Linked DNA regions of Homo sapiens: regions 1 and 2 are each linked to region 3. The links are contacts of gene promoters, found by promoter capture Hi-C in human tissues and cell types (Jung and others, 2019). All regions are on one chromosome and are shown on one strand. The core of a region is centred on a gene start or on the middle of the fragment in contact, and the rest is flanking DNA. Distances in the headings are between cores, read along the strand shown. Region 1 overlaps LOC101929460 (a long non-coding RNA gene). Region 2 has its middle 12 kb from the start of THBS2-AS1. Region 3 holds the start of PHF10 (PHD finger protein 10).

Region 1 (3,728 bases), core at 148-2,647, 690 kb before region 3:
AAATTTTGCCTGGAAACTAGCTTTCAAGCAGAAAGGAAGGCAGAAAAAGTCCTGGGACATACACCTGACTGCAAAGACAATCATTAAATTGGCTGGAGAAATCTGCAAATACAGCAAATGCTATTTTTGTCCCAAGCTCGAATAGATCATGGCTTTTCCTAATTTAAACATCTCTGGTAAAATAGCTGAGTTTGAAGTCCAAATGTGGCAGATGTCTAAATAAGTTCTGTGCCTGTGTAAAGAATAAGCTGCCATGCAGGGGAAAATGCCTCTTCTGTCGGCAAGAAGTGGTTTCTGCTTTGGTGCTGTTCCCTGTGTCTGCATGTGCAGGAGTGACTTTGTGCACCTCCCTGGGTTTCTTCACCCTCCTGCCCTGTGGCTGAAGGGAAGTATGCCTGAGCGAATTCATGTTGCCCTCCCCGTTTTGTCTCATGGATCATGAGTTCAGACCTAGCACACTGTGCAGCACCCAGAAGCACAGTCCTGCTCAAAATGCTCCTTTCCACCGACACTTATCTCCCCTGCCTCTGACTTCCTCAGCATCACCGCTCCCTGCAACAGAGCCAGAGCTGATTGAAAAACACTTAGGTAAATATTGAGTTCCCCAGTCTGGGGCGATTAGAATTGTCATCTTCCCAATTCTGTGAAGAAAGGCATTGGTAGCTTGATGGGGATGGCACTGAATCTGTAAATTACCTTGGGCAGTATGGCCATTTTCACGATATTGATTCTTCCTACCCATGAGCATGGAATGTTCTTCCATTTGTTTGTATCCTCTTTTATTTCCTTGAGCAGTGGTTTATAGTTCTCCTTGAAGAGGTCCTTCGCATCCCTTGTAAGTTGGATTCCTAGGTATGTTATTCTCTTTGAAGCAATTGTGAATGGGAGTTCACTCATGATTTGGCTCTCTGTTTGTCTGTTGTTGGTGTATAAGAATGCTTGTGATTTTTGTACATTGATTTTGTATCCTGAGACTTTGCTGAAGTTGCTTATCAGCTTAAGGAGATTTTGGGCTGAGACAGTGGGGTTTTCTAGATATACAATCATGTCATCTGCAAACAGGGACAATTTGACTTCCTCTTTTCCTAATTGAATACCCTTTATTTCCTTCTCTTGCCTAATTGCCCTGGCCAGAACTTCCAACGCTATGTTGAATAGGAGTGGTGAGAGAGGGCATCCCTATCTTGTGCCAGTTTTCAAAGGGAATGCTTCCGGTTTTTGCCCATTCAGTATGATATTGGCTGTGGGTTTGTCATAGATAGCTCTTATTATTTTGAGATACGTCCCATCAACACCTAATTTATTGAGAATTTTTAGCATGAAGGGTTGTTGAATTTTGTCAAAGGCTTTTTCTGCATCTATTGGAAACTACCATCAGAGTGAACAGGCAACCCACAAAATGGGAGAAAATTTTCACAACCTACTCATCTGACAAAGGGCTAATATCCAGAATCTACAATGAACTCAAACAAATTTACAAGAAAAAAAAAAACAACCCCATCAAAAAGTCGGCGAAGGACATGAACAGACACTTCTCAAAAGAAGACATTTATGCAGCCAAAAAACACATGAAAAAATGCTCATCATCACTGGCCATCAGAGAAATGCAAATCAAAACCACAATGAGATGTGTGGCCATCTCACACCAATTAGAATGGCAATCATTAAAAAGTCAGGAAACAACAGGTGCTGGAGAGGATGTGGAGAAATAGGAACACTTTTGCACTGTTGGTGAGACGGTAAACTAGTTCAACCATTGTGGAAGTCAGTGTGGCGATTCCTCAGGGATCTAGAACTAGAAATACCATTTGACCCAGCCATCCCATTACTGGGTATATACCCAAAGGACTATAAATCATGCTGCTATAAAGACACATGCACACGTATGTTTATTGTGGCATTATTCACAATAGCAAAGACTTGGAACCAACCCAAATGTCCAACAATGACAGACTGGATTAAGAAAATGTGGCACATATACACCATGGAATACTCTGCAGCCATAAAAAATGATGAGTTCATGTCCTTTGTAGGGACATGGATGAAATTGGAAATCATCATTCTCAGTAAACTATCACAAGAACAAAAAACCAAACACCGCATATTCTCACTCATAGGTGGGAATTGAACAATGAGATCACATGGACACAGGAAGGGGAATATCACACTCTGGGGACTGTTGTGGGGTGGGGGGAGGGGGGAGGGATAGCATTGGGAGATATACCTAATGCTAGATGACGAGTTAGTGGGTGCAGCACACCAGCATGGCACATGTATACATATGTAACTAACCTGCACAATGTGCACATGTACCCTAAAACTTAAAGTATAATAATAAATTAATTAATTTAAAAAAAGAAGTTACTGAAAAATAAAATAAAATAAAATAAAATACTCTAAAAAAAAAAAAAAGAATTGTCATCTTCCAAACCTTAGACATGGCCAGACATCCCCAGTGGGCTGCCAAATCCTGTCACCGTGTGCCTTCCTTAATCCAACCAGGAACTGTGTTTTACCTTTCTACCCCACACTCCTCCCAAGATGCTCAACCTTGGTTTCATCATTGTACAGATGGCTGCAGACTCAGTTGTCCAACATTCCCCTGGGGTGAGCTGATGACCTGAACCCTAAGAACGCTCGATTTGAGAACAATGTGATTTAGTGTTGTTTTTAAAGACACTAAGTTTTGCGGTGCTTTATGAAAAGCAATGGCCAGCTTGGAGAGTGAAGTGGCAATGGGGGTCATTGAAGCTCAACTGCTGTGGTCTTCCCATCCTTCAAGGTCAAGGGCACTCATCTGATGTGTAGCCTGGGGGCAGCAACAGAGACTAAAAATCCAGGGAATCAAATGAGGCAGTTCACAGCCAGGGAAGAGACTTCCATAGGGATGAGGACTAAGGCAGATAACTCCAGGATAAAATAAAAGTGACTGCACTTTCTTGCACTGCTTGGAGTCGGCTACCAAGTATGCTCAAGCATTGCTAAGAGTATCCTGATGGACGGATGCAAAAAAACAGATGTCTGCTTAGTATGCTGTGGTCAATAAATAATTAACTTGCTTTGTAAGAAGCTGTCTCAGATTGCAAATAGACCGTACCCTAGTAGGAAAGGATCAATAAAGCACAATCACTCTATTGGCCAATTAGCTGCATATTATTTAATCAAATGTGGAAATCCATCTTCTTGATGATCCATGCATTAGCCTGTTATTGCAATGCTGTAAAGAAATACCTGAGGCTGCATAATTTATAAGGAAAAGAGGTTAAATTGGCTCACAGTTCTGCAGGCTGTACAGGAAGTATGGTGCTGGCGTCTGCTTCTGGTGAGGCCTCAGGAAGCTTCCAATTGTGGTGGTGGGTGAAGGGGGCCAAAGCATCACATGGCAAGAGTGGGAGCAGGAGAGGAGGGGGTTCCCAGACGTTTAAACACCCAGAGCTCAGGTGAACTGACTGAGTGAGAACTAACTCATATCAAGGGGTTGGTGCTGAACTGTTCATGACATGACTGATTCACTTCTGTGATCTAGTACCTCCCACCAGGCCTCCCCTCTAACACTGGGGATCACATTTCACATACGTTTTGGAGGGACACACATCCAAACCACATCAGCACACATGGTCTCCAAATGTCATTTAGCCCCTCCTCATGCGATGTCAGAAGGCTGACGCCTGGGGGTGTGCAGCTTTCCAGGACATCCTTCCTGAAGGGTTGCAGCAATACTTTAAGTG
Region 2 (3,392 bases), core at 791-3,290, 520 kb before region 3:
CCACGTCAGGAACATGTGTCCTCTGCTCTTTTCCTCTCAGCCTCAGGGGTGCAGATGTTGGGCTGCGACATGTCTCAAGGAGACAGTTTACCCCTTCAAGATCCCACAGATCCTTTCTGCATTCCCTGTGAGTGTGCTGACCCTATGCAATTGCAAAGCCACGAGGCCAAGCTTGTGGCCTCTGCTCCCCTTGGGGCCATCTGGGGGGTCTGGTAAATACTGCTCATCTCCACCCTTAGAATCACCCTGGTGCAGGCTGCACCAGACCTGCCTCCCAGTGCTGGAGAGGGGACACCAGGGGTAGAAGTCCCCATAGACAGCCCGGTCAGTGCAGCCATCTCTTCCTCCTGCGCCATCACATCTTTTGAGGGAAGCATCTTCACCTGCTCATTACCTGCAGGCTGAGATCCCAGGCTCTATACACAGTTGATGGACTGGGTTAGGGGCAAGCGTGAGTAGGGCCCAAGCTCCAGGCACATGTGACTCTGTGTCAGTTCCCATTCCTCTGGGAAGCATTTTTCCAACTCCCCATAGCTGGACCCTGCCTTGCGTCTTCAATGCAACTCTCCCTGGGTGGGCGCTTTCCTGCCCCCACTCTCCATCGCCCTCTCCAAGGGGGGTTCTATGCACAGCTCCCTCCCCCAAACCCCTCTGCCCACCCTCTAGCTCCCGCTAGCCATTTTATTATTCATCTAATAGCTACTCCAAAACACCTCAAATTAGCCATTTTGTTTCTTCTATTGAATTAATTTAATTCTTACAATAGCCCCATGAGGAATATATTATTTCTGCTATATCACAGATGAGGAAATTGAAGCCCAGGGGAAGCTAGTGACTTTCCCAGGGACACACAAGCAGTCAGTGGCTGGGCCAGACTGAGGGACATGGCCCCCTGTGCTCACCAGCCTCAACACGATACACGCTCCCAAAAAGCTTCACATTTCCTCAAAGGTGAGGTCAATAACATACTTCTCTGCAAATAAAAAATAATAATTAAATTTCACTGACTGCATATTATGTGTGAGGGAATCTGCAAACAGCTTCACCCATGTCCCGTCATTCTGGCATCAAAACACTCAGTCAGGTGCTGAAATGGGCATCCTCACTCCACACGTGAGAACCTGGAGGCACCCAAAAGCCAGGCAGTGGACACCCTGGAATTTACTCATCCCTACCTCGGGCAGGAGTCCTACCCTCATGCCATCAGCCTCCCCAGGTACACAGAGGATGTGTAATCATTACCTACCCAGGCAACAATTGAACTGAGCTAAGCTTTGGGTGGTATAAGATGCACTAACATTTAGACATGCCAGGATTCCAGCTGGGGCAAGCACATTCTCCTCCAGTGAAGCCACGAAGCCCCACTCTGCTCCTGAGAGGCCAAGAAAGAGACGGGCAGATGGTGAAGCCATCAAACAGCCCTCTGGACACAGCCCGGGAGCCCTGGCCAACAACACCATCCATCCCAAAAGCCAGCTTGGTAGTTCCCACCCTCATTCCTCATCAAAAGAAAGCATGATTACTCTGGCAGGAAAGAGCGGCTTCCCAAAATCCAAACTGGCAAGATGGTGGAATTCCTCATAAGAAAACTCCAGATGCTCCTGAGCTTGCTCTCCGGCAGAACGTCCTCAGCACATCTGGTCTGCGCTGTTGGATGAGACACACAACACAGCACCCACGGCAAGGTCCAGAATCCCTGTGGGCTGTGAGGTCCAGAATCCCTGTGCTGCCACAGCTGGGCACGGGCTGAGGGACCTCAGACAGGGCCTCCACGATTCTGAGCCCCAGCTTCCTCATGTGAGACCCAGAAATAGGTAGTGAACACAGGAATGATTTAAAAAATGTAATGGGCATGTAGCATCTACTCAGGGCTGGACACAGCCTTCAGTCACTGAATATACGTACACACACATACACACACGAAGCGCTATGGTATGTCAAGAAACATTCTGTCCAATACAACAGTTTTTAGAAATTTTAAGATCATGACCCCTTCAAGAAACAATGAAAGCAATGGAATCACCAGCCAGAAAAACAAAAGGCACTGTATATAGAATAATCCAGTATGGAGCATCCCGGGAGCCTGGCAGCGGGTGGAGAATCTCCGTGAGAATGTGACGAGTCCATACCTTTAGTCGCACGGTGCAGACCCCCGATGGGAACTGCAGAGGGCCTAGCAGAGGGGCCCTGGGAAAATTTAGGGGAGGCCACAGGAGGCCCAACATCGCTCAGAATGAAGATCCTCAGCCTACAATTTTCTCCTTAGCTACTTTTCTAGCGCTTCCTTCGCAAACAGAGGCAGCAGACTCAGGCAGCCACCTGCACTGCTCTGCCTCCAGCGCAGGCCTCCCGCGGCTGCTTCTCCTCTGCCTCTTGAAACTTGTCTGTGCACAAAAGCAGAGTGGAGGGAAAAGAACACACACGTGTGGGAAACTCTGTGCTGTGCACACGCGTGCATTAAATACACAGCCTCATTTGGCCTCGTGGAAACTCAGGGAGGCAGACAGTGTGTTCCCATCTTAGAGACGGGAGCAGTGAGGCTCAGTGAACATAAGTTACAGTGTGGGTGGCGTGGTGAAGCTGACATCACATGTGGCCGCCCCACTCCAGAGTGTAGTCTTCCCTCCACGTCTGCATCACCACCGGAGAGCAGCAGGCGTGAGAACAGGTGGACCTGGGGGAGCAGGGAGACTCGGGACTTCTCATGGCCTGGTCTGCCGTGGTCCACATGCTTACCTTGGTTTCTCAGCTGTATTGAGGGATACTTGGTGTTTGAGGCTGATCTCACACTGCTATAAAGAAATGCTTGAGACTGGGTAGCTTATAAAGAAGAGGTTGCATTGGCTCACGGTTCTGCAGGCTATGCAGGAAGCATGATGCTGCTCAACTTCTGGGGAGGCCTCAGGAAACTTACAATTACGACAGAAGGCGAAGGGGAAGCCAGCGCATCGTACATGGCTGGAGCAGGAGGAAGGAGGGAAAGGGAGGTATCACACACTTTTAAACAACCAGATCTCACGAGAACTCACTATCACAAAAACAGCACCCAGGGGATGGCACTAACCCATTCATGAGAGCTCCACCCCCATGACCCATTCACCTCTCACCAGGCCCCACCTCCAACACTGAGGATTACAATTCGACGTGAGATTTGGGCGGGGACACAGATCCAAACCATATCCATTGGTAAATGAACATTGTTTGCATTCAAGGTGTACAATGTGATGGTTCTATACGTATACACTGTGAGATGTTGACCCCAGTACAGCTGCTTAACGTGTTTATCACCTTACATAGTTACTGGGTGCGTGTGCATGCATGTGGTGAGAATACAAGATCTACTCTCCGCAAATTTTAAGTATTCAATACATTATACATTAGTTTGAGATGTA
Region 3 (3,418 bases), core at 732-3,231:
CAAAGTGCTCAAAAAAGCTGAGACTACAATTTCATCAAGTGTTTTAAATTACTACTACAAATTCTAGGCAAAGGCATTATTATATAAAGTGAGCATCTGGGCAGCGGGCCTTTTTCTTGAGGGAGGTAGTAACAGCAATATTGTTCCCAATACATGACGGAATAAGGTAAGAATTTCCGTGTAACCGCAATACTGATACAGAGGCCCATGTTTTCAAAGACTCCCAAACATACTAAATCAGAGATGTGCCTTCCAGAGTTACAGGTGGTTTCCAACTACAGATCAGATGAATTTCTATGCATCACATCCTTCCTAGGGCTCAGGGGTCAAGAATGCACTCAGGGGGCACTGGCTCAGTGCCCTCCAGGTGCCGGGCCAGACGTCAAATGCTGGAAGTGCAAGGATGTGCATTCAGAGTCTTACAATCTAGTTACTTCCATTGACGACAGCCTTTGAGGAACCTTCAAAATGAGTCTCACAGCACGGTGGACGTGCGCAACGGGAAAAGCTCCCAAGCAGGCGCAGCCCGGCTAGGCTGCTACAGGACGGCTTCCCCTGCCAACGCGCACACGGCACACCGCGCACCGCACGAAGGCTGGCTGGCTCTGCAGCATTCCAGTTCCCACCGCCTTCTAATTTCAATCCAATTTCAAGCTTCCAGGCTTTTAAAACATCATTCCTCCCTTCCAACTTTCTGTCACAAACTGCTAGCCTAACTTTAGAACCAAAACGTTTTGATGCGTGACACTACTGCTCATCTCCATTTTCTCCACAAGCACCAATTTCTTTTCACCTCCTCAAGCAGTAAAAAGTTTTAACAGACTTCCGCTGAAAACATCCGGACGCTTGCGTATTAACTTAGTTATTACAGTAAGTTCACTGAGTGTGTTGATTTTCCATATCGTTCGCCACTCGGTTTTTGCAGTAAGCGTTCAAACACTTCGGCAAACTATGCGCGGAATGAACGCTGAGCGAACGCGCGCTTCTGCAGGCCCCTCCGAGGCCAACTCTCTCGGCCCCGGGCGCGTTCCGTCCCACGGCTGGCCTAGGAGGAGGCGTTTTGGGGACAAGCTTGTCAAGCAGGGCCGGCTGCCAACTTCGGGGAAGCCGCGCCGCGTCCCCCGCCCGCCCGCACTTGTTGCTCGCTAGAGGCCGCGGGCTCACCTCGGGGCCCCGCCTCGCCGACCACCCCCGGTCTCAGGCGCGGCGCCCGGCCTGGGCCCACGCCCCCGAGACGCTGGGCGGCCGCCGGTGGGACTGGGCCCACGCCCCGGCACCCAGGCCCGGGACGGGGTCAGGGTCGGGTCGCACCGGCCGCTTCCTCACCTTCGGGGACTGCGCTCCGGGGGTGGCTGGGTCGCTGTCGCACGGCCGCGGGGACAGCGCAGCCCCGGGCCCGGCCGCCGCCGCCATCAGCCCGAGCGCCCCGCGCCGCCGCCGCCGCCGTCGCCTCCGCCTTGTCCCGGCCGCCGCCGCCGCTGCCGCCGCCGCCGCCGCCGCCGCCGCGCGGGCCCCCCGCCGCCCCGGCCCCGCCCCCTCCGCCCGCCCGCCCGGGGGCCGGCCCCTGCCGCCGCGCGCCCCGCGGCCCGCCAGCGCCGCCGCCACCGCCATGGCCGTCGCCAGCGCGCCGCCCGCGCGGGAGGGCGCCAAAGGCTGGGAGGGCGCGGGGCTGCGGGCCGGAATGGAGGAGGCCCAGCGGCGGCGGCGCTTCTCACGTCAGCCCAACCCGCCCGGCCGCGGCCACCGCCTCAGCACCGTTGCCCCCCACAGCTCCGCCGCTGGCCTCAGCGCCGCCGCGACTCCCTTCAGCCCCGCCACTCGCTCGCCTCAGCCCCGCCGCTCGCTCGCCTCAGCCCCGCGGCCGCCTCAGCCCCGCCGCTCGCCTCAGCCCCGCCGCTCGCCTCAGCCCCGCCGCTCCCCTCAGCCCCGCGGCCGCCTCAGCCCCGCCGCCGCCTGGCTCCCCACGGCCCGGCGTTGTACTCGGCCGCGGCTCCCCCCAGCCCCCGGCGCGCCCCACCTCCCGCCCGCCCTCCGGCCCGCCCCGGCCCGGCACGTCGCCACTTGGCGCGCTCGCAGCCGCCCCCTCCCCGCGGCCCCCGGCCCGGCCCCTCCGCGCGTCACCCTCGTTCCCTCCCTCTCTCCGCGCCCCCGCCGCGCCCCTCCCCGCCCCTCCCGGGGGTCCCCGCCCCGCCCCCTCTCTGCCGGGGGTCGCCCTGCCCGGAGCAGTCGCGCGGAGACTGCGCGGCCTCCGCCTCTACGCGCTCGCGGTCGCCGCTCCTCTCCCGCCTTTGTTCTCGGGTCGCCCCTCTCGCTGGTGGCGCTCCGAGAGAGCAGCGGAGCCACCTGCCCAGGCCACGCTTCCCCGAGCATCCGCAGCTGCACCCGGGGGCTGTCGGCGCCCGCCCCGGAGCGTGCGGGAGGCACAGCGGGAAGAAGTCGCTGAGATTCGGCCCTCGTGGCTTTGCGTGCCCGCGTGGTTGATGCCTCCGCCGAGAACGCGGTCGGCCGGGAGCCGGGGAGGAGCGTGGACGCCGGCCTGGCAGGTACCCCCGCGAGAACGTGGGAGCCGGTGTATTTCAGCTGCATTTATTACTGATCTCGGGCTGCACCAGGGCACTTGTAGGACCGCACTAAAAACAGCGGAAAGTGAGGAGCCAAGCCTGGGTCCGGGGCGGCCCGCCGTACAGCTGGCCTCACGGATTCCACTGCCTGCGCCTGCAGATGACTTGTTCTGGAGAGTAGAGAATGTTCTCGGATTTAAAGTACAATCCGGTTTCCTTTCCATTCATTATAGTTGCCTACACTCAACAAACAAAAGTTGGGAAAGATAAAGGGATTATTCTAGCGCGTCACATTGACAAACACCGACGTTAACACGCTCAGTCCAGCCTGACTCACTTGCCTCAGGTCAGAGAGGTCACCACTGACGACGCCGGGCCCTCAAGCCGATCCTAATCCAGCTTGGTTCTCTCAGCCTCAGCCAGACCATCCGTTCTTGCCTCTGTCCCACCACGTGCAGGTGTAAGCTTCCGCCGCACTTCTTGTCTGAATCTGCCAAGAAGAAACTGCATCTTTCAGCTAAATTCTTTTCACTGATCAGGGTAGAGTTTAGCGGTTTTTTTTTTAAGAAAAAAAACAAAAACAAAAAAAAACTCTTAAGCTATTTGGTACTCCTCTCCCTCCGGGATTCTGTCTCTAGATTGTGAAAGCTGTCAGAGAATGGAGTCAGGGAAAGCCGTGATGGGAAAGTTCTCACTAATAATTGCCTGATATAAAGAATTAGCACAAAAGACTGCCAAAACCACAACCTTGCACAAAGGCCACAAAACTACACAAAAAAATGCTTCAAGGACATTTGCGCAGCAACTGCCTGTCCAACCTTGGACTGGCCATCCCCTTTGTTACTGATCTTTGTAGC

The links. Contacts are between HindIII fragments. The study calls those that stand out against the background at their distance.
Region 1: a contact is called between a fragment that was not itself captured here and the fragment with the promoter of PHF10 in region 3, in 2 of the 25 tissues and cell types used here (dorsolateral prefrontal cortex and mesenchymal stem cells).
Region 2: a fragment that was not itself captured here is called in contact with the fragment with the promoter of PHF10 in region 3 in 2 of the 25 tissues and cell types used here (dorsolateral prefrontal cortex and mesenchymal stem cells).

What each region holds. Positions count from the first base shown.
Region 1 is chr6:169,031,034-169,034,761 of GRCh38, forward strand. It overlaps LOC101929460 (a long non-coding RNA gene), which reads right to left. Exons shown (of 2, transcript NR_134622.1): 2 at 3,138-3,728. Among named protein-coding and RNA genes, the nearest start is that of LINC01615, 130 kb to the right of the region's middle. The HindIII fragment of the contact is 5,289 bases long and covers 1-3,728 here.
Region 2 is chr6:169,199,595-169,202,986 of GRCh38, forward strand. No RefSeq gene overlaps it. Among named protein-coding and RNA genes, the nearest start is that of THBS2-AS1, 12 kb to the right of the region's middle. The HindIII fragment of the contact is 4,562 bases long and covers 1-3,392 here.
Region 3 is chr6:169,722,519-169,725,936 of GRCh38, forward strand. It overlaps PHF10 (PHD finger protein 10), which reads right to left and starts at 1,982. Exons shown (of 12, transcript NM_018288.4): 1 at 1,327-1,982. The coding sequence starts at 1,413. It also overlaps a transcript of DYNLT2 not described here. RefSeq lists silencers at 1,084-1,463, 1,564-1,803, 1,874-2,173 and an enhancer at 2,105-2,647. The HindIII fragment of the contact is 6,446 bases long and covers 863-3,418 here.